2 separate regions of the Homo sapiens genome follow, and region 1 is linked to region 2. Evidence: promoter capture Hi-C in 16 types of primary human blood cells and fetal thymus (Javierre and others, 2016). All regions are on one chromosome and are shown on one strand. Each heading gives the region's core, a stretch centred on a gene start or on the middle of the fragment in contact. The rest is flanking DNA. Distances are from core to core; before and after follow the strand shown.

Region 1 (5,052 bases), core at 2,203-4,702, 230 kb after region 2:
GTTCTAATTTAATTGCACTGTGGTCTGAGAGACTGTTTGTTATAATTTCCACTCATTTGCATTTGCTGAGGAGTGTTTTACTTCCAATTATGTGGTCAATTTTAGAATAAGTGCAATGTGGTGCTGAAAGGAACATATATTCTGTTGATTTGGGGTGGAGAATTCCGTAAATGTCTATTAGGTACACTTGGTCCAGAGCTGAGTTCAAGTCCTGAATATCCTTGTTAATTTTCTGTCTTGTTGATCTGTCTAATAGTGACAGTGCAGTGTTAAAGTGTCCCACTATTATTGTTTGGGAGTCTAAGTCTTTTTGTATGTCTCTAAGAGCTTGCATTATGTATCTGGGTGCTCCTTTATTGGGTGCACATATATTTAGCATAGTTAGCTCTTCTTGTTGCATTAATCCCTTTACCATTATGTAATGCCCTTCTTTGTCATTTTTGATCTTTGTTGGCTTAAAGTCTGTTCTATCAGAGACTAGGATTGCAACCCCGGGTTTTTTTGTTTTTGTTGTTTTGTTTTTGGGGTTTTCTTTGCTTTTCATTTGTATTGTAAATATTTTTCCATCCCTTTATTTTAAGCCAATGGTTGTCTTTGCATGTGAGATGGGTCCCCTGAATGCAGCACATTAATGCGTCTTAACTCTTTATCCAGTTTGCCAGACTATGTCTTTTAATTGGGGCACTTACCACAATTACATTTAAGGTTTATATTGTTATGTGTGAATTTGATTATGATGCTAGCTGGTTATTTTTCCTGTTAGATGATGCGGTATCTTAATAGTGTTGATGGTGTTTACAATTTGGTATATTTTTGCAGCATCTGGTACCAGTTTTCTTTTCCATATTTAGTGCTTCCTTCAGGAGCTCTTGTAAGGCAGGTCTGGTGGTCACCAAGTCTCTCAGCATTTGCTTGTCCATAAAGGATTTTATTTCTCCTTCACTTATGAAGCTTAGTTTGGCTGTATATGAAAATTCAACACCCCTTTATGCTAAAAAATCTCAATAAAATAGGAATTAATGGAACTTATCTCAAAATAGTAAGAGCTATTTATGACAAAGCCACAGCCAATATCATACTGAATGGGCAAAAGCTGGAAGCATTCCCTTTGAAAACTGGCACACGACAAGAATGCCCTCTCTCACCACTCCCATTCAACATAATATTGGAAGTTCTGGCCACAGCAGTCAGACAAGAGAAAGAAATAAAGGGTATTCAAATAGGAAGAGAGGAAGTCAGAGTGTCCCTGTTTGCAGATGACATGATTGTATCTTTAGAAAACCCCGTCATCTCAGCCCAAAAATTCCTTTAGCTGCTAAGCAACTTTAGCAAAGTCTCAGGATGCAAAATCAATGTGCAAAAATCACAAGCATTCTTCTACACCAATAGTAGACAGAAAGCCAAATCATGAGTGAACTCCCATTCACAATTGCTACAAAGAGAATAAATACCTAGGAATAAAACTTACAAGTGATGTTAATGACCTCTTCAAGGAGAACTACAAACCACCGCTCAAGGAAATAAGAGAGACACAAACAAATGGAAAAACATTCCATGCTCATGTATAGGAAGGATCAGTATTGTGAAAATGGCCATACTGCCCCAAGTAATGTATACATTGAATGGTATTCCCATCAAGCTACCATTGACTTTCTTCACAGAGTTAGAAAAAACTACTTCAAATATCATATGGAACCAAAAAAGAGCCCATATAGCCAAGACAATTCTAAGCAAAAAGAACAAAGCTGGAGGCATCACACTACCTGACTTCAAACTATACTACAAGGCTACAGTAACCAAAACAACATGGTAGTGGTACCAAAACAGAGATATAGACCAATGGAACAGAACAGAGGCCTCAGAAATAATGCCACACATCTATACCATCTGATCTTTGACAAACCGGACAAAAACAAGCAATAGGGAAAGGATTCCCTATTTAATAAATCATGTTGGGAAAACTGGCTAGCCATATGCAGAAAACTGAAACTGGACCCCTTTCTTATACCTTATACAAAAATTAACTCAAGATGGATTAAAGACTTAAACTTAAGATCTAAAACCATAAAAATCCTAGAAGAAAACCTAGGCAATACCATTCAGGACATAGGCATGGGCAAAGACTTCATGACCAAAACACCAAAAGCTATGGCAACAAAAGCCAAAATTGACAAATGGGATCTAATTAAACTAAAGAGCTTCTGCACAGCAAAATAAAATACAATAAGAGGGAACAGGCAACCTACAGAATGGGAGAGAAATTTTCCAATCTATCCACCTGACAAAGGGCTAACATCCAGAATCTACAAAGAACTTAAACCAATTTACAAGAAAAAAACAAACAGCCCCATCAAAAAGTGGGCAAAGGATATGAACAGACACTTCTCAAAAGAAGACATTTATGCAGCCAGGAAACATATGAAAAAAAGGTCATCATCACTGGTCATTGGAGAAATACAAATCAAAACCACAATGAGATACCATCTCACGCCAGTTAGAATGGCAATCTTTAAAAAGTCAGGAAATGACAGATGCTGGAGAGGGTGTGGAGAAATAGGAACGCTCGTACACTGTTGGTGGGAGTATAAATTAGTTCAACCATTGTGGGAGACACTGTGGTGATTCCTCAAGCATCTAGAACCAGAAATACCATTTGACCCAGCCATCCCATTACTGGGTATATACCCGAAGGATTATAAATCATTCTACTATAAAGACACATGCACACGTATGTTTATTGCAGCATTGTTCACAATAGCAAAGAGTTGGAACCAACCCAAATGCCCATCAATGATAGACCAGATAAAGAAAATGTGGCACATATACACATATACACCATGGAAAACTATGCAGCCATGAAAAAGGATGAGTTCATCTCCTTTGCAGGGACATGGATGAGGCTGGAAACCATCATTCTCAGGAAACTAACGCAGGAACAGAAAACCAAACACTGCATGTTCTCTCTCATAAGTGGGAGTTGAACAATGAGAACACATGGACAGGGGGAGGGGAATATGACACACCGGGGCCTGTCAGGGGGTGGGGGGCTATGGGACAGATAGCATTAGGAGAAATACCTAATGTAGATGACGGGTTGATGGGTACAGCAAACCACCATGGCATGTGTATACCTATGTAACAAACCTGCACGTTCTGCACATGTATCCCAGAACTTAAATTATACAACAAAAGGTAAATAAATGGCTTTTAAATAACTTTAAAAATTGCTTTCTCCAGGATCATAATTTCAGGATTTTGATGTTTTGGGATTTCAGCATTCAAGATTATGGCATTTGTGATTGTATCTTTTAGGATTATGATTGGATCCTTTATATAAAAATGATCAGCATAGAGGAGTTAGTGGAGCCCATGAATATAAATTAGGAATAGTGATGGTGATGATGGTGATGACGATGATGATGTTGATGATGATGATGATGATAGTAACAATAAAAACTAGTATTCTTTTAGTATCTACTATTATATATGCCAGACGCTATGTAATTTATTTCTCACTTCACCCTGATGAGATGAAATGATTTGTCCAGGGTAATAAAATTGGTTAATGGTGGAACTTATATTTTAATTTAGGACTTGTTGATTTTAGAAATTAAGAGAACACAGAGAATGGAATGCTAGAGAATGTTGCCATTTGAGAGACTGACACAGAAAAAAACTAAAGGATACAGAGAGAAAACAGGCAGAGAGTTAGGAACAAACTTTGACAAAATGTCTGATGGAAATTAAGGAAGTGCAGGACTTTAAGAAGGAACAGTAGATATTAGATAACTTTGGTAGTATAGAATAGTGGTTATTGGCACAGAATCTGAACCCTAGAGTCTAGTGTTGCAACACAACTTTGCTATTTATTAGCTGTGTGATCTCAACCAGGGTACTTGTCCTCTCTGTGCATCCCTTTCTAATCTAGAAAATAATGATAAGAATAGTTGATTACCTCACAAGGTACCTTGAGTTGACTACCTCACAAGAAAAGGAATTGGGTTAGCTGGAGAAGAAAGTGAAGAGCTGAGTGTGGGTGAGGGAAAACAGAGGGGCTGAGAGACTAAAGAGAATAAAATGGTTGAAGAACATGGATAAGGAACTGACTGGGTGCTGGCACTAACTAGCTTGTGACTTTGGACAGGTCACCTCCCTAATGAGGCCCCAGTTTTTTTGTTTTTTGTTTTTTTCATTTTAAAAATGAAGATGCTGTAAGATGTGATCTGTGTACAATCTTTGTCCGATTCTGGATTCTACTTTTCCTTCTTTCATTGCACTGCCACCTAGTGTGTATAAAGTATATAGAAGAGACGCTATAAGAAAGAAATGCAAAAGAATCGGTGTTACCCTCTATTGCCTCGTCTTCACCCATCTGATGTCAGAAGCAACAAATAATATCAGTGGACTTAGAAGACCAAAGTGATGGAAGAGTCGTGGATGAATGGAGCCTGGGACCTGAATCATTACTAAAAGATGAACTGCTTAGAAATGTCACTTAATAAAAAACATTCTGTTGGACTGTTGCATGAGTAAGAAATACACTTTTGTATTAAAATACTGAAAAAAAGGTGGGGGGAGGGCAGGCGCGGTGGCTCACACCTGTAATCCCAGCACTTTGGGAGGCCAAGGCGGGTGGATCACCTGAGGTCGGGAGTTCAAGACCAGCCTGACCAACCTGAAGAAACCCTGTTTCTACTAAAAATACAAAATTGGCCAGGCGTGGTGGTGCATGCCTGTAATCCTAGCTACTTGGGAGGCTGAGGCAGGAGAATCCCTTGAACCTGGGAGGCGGAGGTTGTAGTGAGCCGAGATCGTGCCATTGCACTCCAGCCTGGGCAACAAGAGTGAACTCTGACCCAGAAAAAAAAAAAAAAGAGTCATTTTAAGAAAATAAAAACCATGAGCAAGTATGTTTACGGAAGAGTGAGGATACACCTGGATGAATTATATCTGAGACTGTTGAATATTTGCTTGCCTTTTTCTCTCAGAAATATTTTTCTTTTCATGACTCACCTCTCCCATTTTTCCCAGATACCATTTCTACTTAGAGGC
Region 2 (5,793 bases), core at 41-2,540:
ATTGGAGGTTTCTGGGACTCCCGGGTTGCTGGAGGCGCCAGGGACTCTGGGGCTGCTGGGGCCTCCTGGAGTTCCCAGGCTGCTGGGGGTTCCCAGGGTAGAAGATCCTGTGGCTCTGGTGGCTTCTGGGGTTCCTTGAACTCTGGGGTCTTTTGGGCCTCCCAGGCTGCTGGGGGATTCATGTGCTCTGGGAGCTTCTGGGGCTCCTTGGCCTCTGAGGACTTTCGGAGTAGATCATACTCCTTGGCTGCTTGGGACTTCTGAAGCTCTGGGATCTGGGCCTGGAGAGCAGCATTTTCTTCCATCAGCCACTGCACTTGAGCCTGCCGAATTTCATTCTCCAATTTCAGAACAATATAGGAGGCTGCTAAGTCCTCCACCATCTTTTGAGGAAATGGGTATGATTTGACAATTTGCTACCAAGAGAGATTGGGTGGGTGTTTGTGAGATCCTTCCTGAAAGCTGCTTACAGGCAGATGTCAGGCTCAGTGAGTTTTCCAAGGGGTGGTATTTGGGCCCCGCCAAGGCTGATTATCAAGAGGTCACTGGGAGCCTCCGGAGCTCGGCAAGAAGGAGCCTCCGGAGCTCAGTAAGGGGAAGTGTCAGATACACTGCGAAGAGAGTGGGAGCTGAGGATCAGAAACTGTGGAAAGCACACATTCAACATAAAACAAAATCTGCCCAACAATGCTGGGTTTCTTTTACCATAGGCTTATGTTCATGAGCTGGGGTATATATGCTGGATCTGACTCCACGACATTTTAAGAACAGCATCTGTCCCAAACTGCACATGTCATTTTGCATTTATCCTTTGAAACTTAACATTATATCAAAAGCAACTTTTTAATATTATTTTCTGTTTTATATAGTCTTTAATCTTGAATATCTGCCTAATATCCCAATGTAACATTTGGATTTTAACAGCTGCTTTCAGTGACTAAATCAAATGTTTGAGCAATGTGGGAATTTTAGGCTCTGCGGTGGGCCAGCCCAAGAGATATTTTTGGGTGACTAGGGTGGTAGGAAGTAGGAGGGAGCTCTTTCTGACACCTCAGAAATCATACCACATAAGTAACCACACAAGACCAGCCTCAGGAGAAAACAAGCAAAAGTCGACTAAATATATATATATATATATATATATGCCCTCAGAAGACACATGCATATTATTTATAAAATACCTCAAAATAGTTAAGAAAATAATCTTTATAAATGTACGTTACCATTCAGAGACTTAGTCCAGGAGCTTGGCTGTCTGTGTACCCATTGCTGAGGAGGGAAATGTGTAAATGGCTGTGGAGGCTTGCCTTTTCTGCACACACTGAACTCAAGCAAACACACCCACTCCCAGAACACATTCCAACTTTCCTCTGTAACATAGCTTTTTAAAGTGTGGAAGAGTTTTTTGACAGTACCTCACAGTTCAGAGCTGCAAGGAAAGTAGGATGCTGTGCTGATGTGAAGCAGCTTCATGTACTCAGTCCTTGGTTACTTTAATGAATATTTGGCCAGGAAATTGTGAGTAATACCACTGCCCTTGTGAAAAGTTGCAAACATTTTTGAATGACCACAGTGGTTTGGGATGTGATTTTTTATGTCTGTCTCATCTAACCTATTCTTACTCTGTCCAAATTGGGCCATTTGTTTACTTCTCACTCAGGGAACAGCCTGCAAACCCTCAGCCCCTTCCCTTGCTTACTACCTATTCAGTCCCTAGGGTTTTTCCTTGCAATGTTTTCTTGGAAAATTTGCCACAGACAGATCTAGAAAAGGTATAAAAGGGTACAAATGTCAGGGAGACCAATTGTGTTGGTGGGTACTTATAGCAGTCTTACAGAGTCCCTGGCTCTTTCTGAATGTCCTGGACCAAAGATCTCATGCTTCCCTGAACTGATCAGGTGCTCCAGGTAGCACTCAGGACATTCACTAAAGACTGGCCTCTTGGGAAGTAACCCTGCTCAGAATCTCACTTTCTCTTCTCATGCCAGATCACAGTTATGCCTTGGGTATGGGCTATGTGGCCATTTTAGGCAAGGCTTAGGGGCAACTATTTTTATCCAAGTAAGGAGTGGGGTTGAGGTTTGCATTTGGCCATTTCAAATCACACATCATGTCAACCACAGTCCCATGTCTCCTTCACAAATGGTCAGTTCTGCATTAGTCAGCATAATGGGATAAACCCTAGTGATGGAATAGGCCCAAAACATAGCAAATTGACAGACTGGGCTACCTGAATCCGAATGCAGAAGCTTTGAAAGTAAAAACAAAATCTTTTGCAAATCGAGTTTATTCTTTCCTTACCTTTCAAAGTTTTATTTTTCTAGAAACACCACACATATAAAAATACCACCATCATCAGGGATGATGTGATCTATTTATGTGAAGTTTTCAGATAACTGAAGCCTTCCTGCCCTCCAAGAAGCCAAAACACACAGTTAACATTTATTTTATCCAGAAAGAAAAGAGAACTTCCAACACCTGAATTTGTAACGGGCTTAGTTAGGGAACAACTATTAATTGAAACTCTTTCCTAATGTTTAGCAATTTCTGTAACAATGAGTTTGAAGGTTCAATACTGGACATCAAGTTGAAATTTAATAAAGAGTATTTCAATTTAAAAAAATCAGAGAAATATTTATAGCATATGTTATACCTCTTTGTCCATTCTTAAGAAATGATTTTGCATATAATTTAATCCAGTTTTAATGGTTTGGATTCATACTTACACAAACCAGCTAGTTTACCCTGTTGTAACACAGTGTTGCCCTCTGAAAGCTACTGAGAGGTATAAAGTGGTCTGTCTTCAAATTAAAAACTTCCAAATTGCTATGTTTTGCGACTTCTTGTATTTTCTTTTCCTTTATATTTTTATACTCTTTTGCAATCAAGTTGTAACATAGCCCTTCATGTTATACCTATATGCCTGTCTATACTTACCCTATACAAATTTGGCAAATTACTTCATCCTTCTGATAGTTAGAATCTAAACTTTAGTTTATGAAACTGTAAAATGAAGTTATTAATATTATTTGACTTTATAGGGTTGTCAAAAATTCAGTGAAATAATGTGTGAAAAAAGGATTAGCACAGTGTCTGGCAGCTAATAACACCCAATAAAGGTTAATAATAATAATAATAATAATAATAATAAGCTGTAGCAGCAGTAATCTCATTTTAATTTATTCTTTTTAATCACCTGTGAATTGGGAAACTGAATAGGTAAACATGCTAGAGTTGTGTAGAGGCTGAGAAAGGGGTCTCATACCGAGAAATCTACAGTGCATCGATTTTACAGCATTGGTTTTTCACCACTTGGGAACTTTTATCTATTCTTCCTTGCTGGGATATAGATGGTTTAGTTTCCAGATAGTACTCTAGAATCAGGACTGGAGGCACCTGAGCAGGAAGATTAGAAGATTAAAACTGGAATTGTGAAGCAGCCAAGATAGATGTTTAAAAAGTTCATGGACTAAAGCACTGAAAAGTGTCTTGCCTACAGGAATATTTATTCAGTGTATAAACACAGAAACCTTTCCTTCCCCAGCCCCCTACACTAAACAGCAAAGACCGAATTCACCGTCCTTAAGTACAAGTTCAAACTGCCTAAACATAGAGAATTATTCTTTTCTGGGTGGAAAAGGCAGCTACACAGACTTTTGTCAAAACGCCTAAAGTGGTTTCAGCATCCTGAATTAGTTAAGTGAGAACAGGAAAGTAAGAATAAGAAAGTAATCACATCCAAATTTTCATCATGTTTCCCCTACACTGTAATTCTTCTTCATACATTTACAATATGATGGAATGTATGGATCCTTTAGAACGGTCATGAAAATATTTTAAGTAAATGAGATTTTGTTAACTATGCAAATGAATATTTCAGGGAGAAAAGAGACAAATATGCTCATTTAACAGATATAAAAAGACTACACACTAATAAGAAATATTCAGGCTCAGTTATGTTAATAAGCTACATATGCTGATTGTTAGCTTAGGGAGAAAAGGAAAGAAAAGGTTGAATGCAATGCAGTTCTACTTTGTACATTCCACTGGCTCATAATTTTCTTTCGTCGGCAAATATACAAACTAAATGTTTTAGGTCTCTCCCAGGGTCTTCCTCCCCTAAGCTGGCTGGGCTGCATCTTTAAGCAACTCCAGCTTCTGTCCCTCCCTTTTCCCACTCTGAAAAACAGTCAATGGGACAGTTTACCCTACAGGTCTCTGGCGCAAGGCCCAGTCACCCCTTGGGGGCAGTCCCATCCTGGTGTGTGTTTTATTTAACATATTATTCCTATGGTTACATTATAGCTTGCAACACTTTCTTAAATTTAACCTATAATGTGATTAGTACAGAATGAAACTTTTCATTGTCAACAACACCCCATAATATAGCACTGGGGCAACAGGAGTTCCCAATTTCTCTGGAAGTTAGAAGGCTGACCAAAAATTCTCTTTACTCATAAGGCCAGGACCCAGAGGACCTAGTAATGGTATGGAAACAGAGTCTATCCCACACAGGAGTCAAAATTTGTCACTCATCTCCCTTTACGAAATTTACAACCTTCTCACTTTATTTCTTATCCCATACTTAGGAGGCTTTTCCGCTTGATCAGCTGTCACACTGGGAAAGTAAGGCCCTACTGAAATACTAACTCGTAAGACTTTAAAAAATCTTTCTTGGGGGTGTGTGCATTTTCATAGGATATTTTGAAAGACTGCAATCCATTCAAGACTCTTCTGTTAGGAGAGATACCCTTGGTCAGAGATATCATTTTGGTGTCCTTCAGATTACACCTTGTCAGTGGCCTTATATTTGATTTCCTTATAAAGTTGACCCAATATGGCCCCTAGTATTAGCAGCAGATATGCTTAATGATTTTAATGCTCTGATTTCACTAAATCCTTGTGAAGGCACCAGGGTGCCTTAGTTTCCTCACCAGGGCTGAGGAAACTGCCATCACAGCCTAACCACGGAATGCGGGACTTTGCTATAACCCCACTTCTGGGGATGCACTTATTGTAGAGATCTGTCCTTCTCCTCTACTTCCTGGACCTCTTACTCTCTGAGGCCTACCAATGCTGGCTCACCCAGAAGTCAGACTAAGTTTAAGCTGATGGTACCAGCAAAGCAGGAGAGATGGGGAAAGACAAGATGGAGGGAGAAGCGGGGAGATGAGGGGCTACAGATGGAGAGAAGGAGAAAGGGAGAGAGAGAAAAAAAGAGGGAGGGATATGGGGAGAAAGAGAGGGTAGGGGAGAAGGCGAGGAGAAGGAAAGATAATATCAGGAAATCTAGAAAGGAGCTTAAAACCTCAGCATAGGTACATTTTGGTCAGTGAAAGATAAAATTTAATTTTATAGTTTAGCATTTTAAAAATTAGATAAAATAATGAAGCATTATCTTTTAAGTGTTTAAGCTTACCTCTACAGGTCTTAATTAGTCCATAGTGGGTGATATGGTCTTTAAAGGTTTGCAGACTGCTGAAGGAGTGATGGTAGAGCCTCAGTGGGACTGAAGAGGACAGTAAGAGTGTAGAAGTGGAAGATGTAGGAGTGACTGTGGTGCTGAGGAGAAAGAATACCAAAATTGGCCATTTTTCTGTGTGCTACAAATAAGATATCAGTTGTTAAAGTGCTTTAAAAATGTGCTAATGGAAAGAACTCAAGCTTTGAAGTAAGGCAGGACTAGTTTCAATTCCCACCTCTGCTGTTTGCTAGTTGTATCTAGTTGTATGGTCTTGTCCAAGTTGCTTAAATTCTCTGAAACTCATTTTCCTCACTTGGAAAATAGGAGAT

The links. The method cuts DNA at HindIII sites, captures the fragments that hold promoters and counts their contacts. A CHiCAGO score of 5 or more calls a contact.
Region 1: a fragment that was not itself captured here is called in contact with the fragment with the promoter of RTL3 in region 2 in 1 of 17 cell types (megakaryocytes); the score reaches 5.1 in megakaryocytes.

The regions. Positions count from the first base shown.
Region 1 is chrX:78,882,467-78,887,518 of GRCh38, forward strand. No RefSeq gene overlaps it. Among named protein-coding and RNA genes, the nearest start is that of MIR4328, 16 kb to the right of the region's middle. The HindIII fragment of the contact is 5,006 bases long and covers 950-5,052 here.
Region 2 is chrX:78,658,038-78,663,830 of GRCh38, forward strand. It overlaps RTL3 (retrotransposon Gag like 3), which reads right to left and starts at 1,291. Exons shown (of 2, transcript NM_152694.3): 1 at 1,224-1,291; 2 at 1-611. The coding sequence starts at 383. The region is part of intron 1 of LOC107985670 (a long non-coding RNA gene); the gene reads left to right. The HindIII fragment of the contact is 2,616 bases long and covers 1-2,247 here.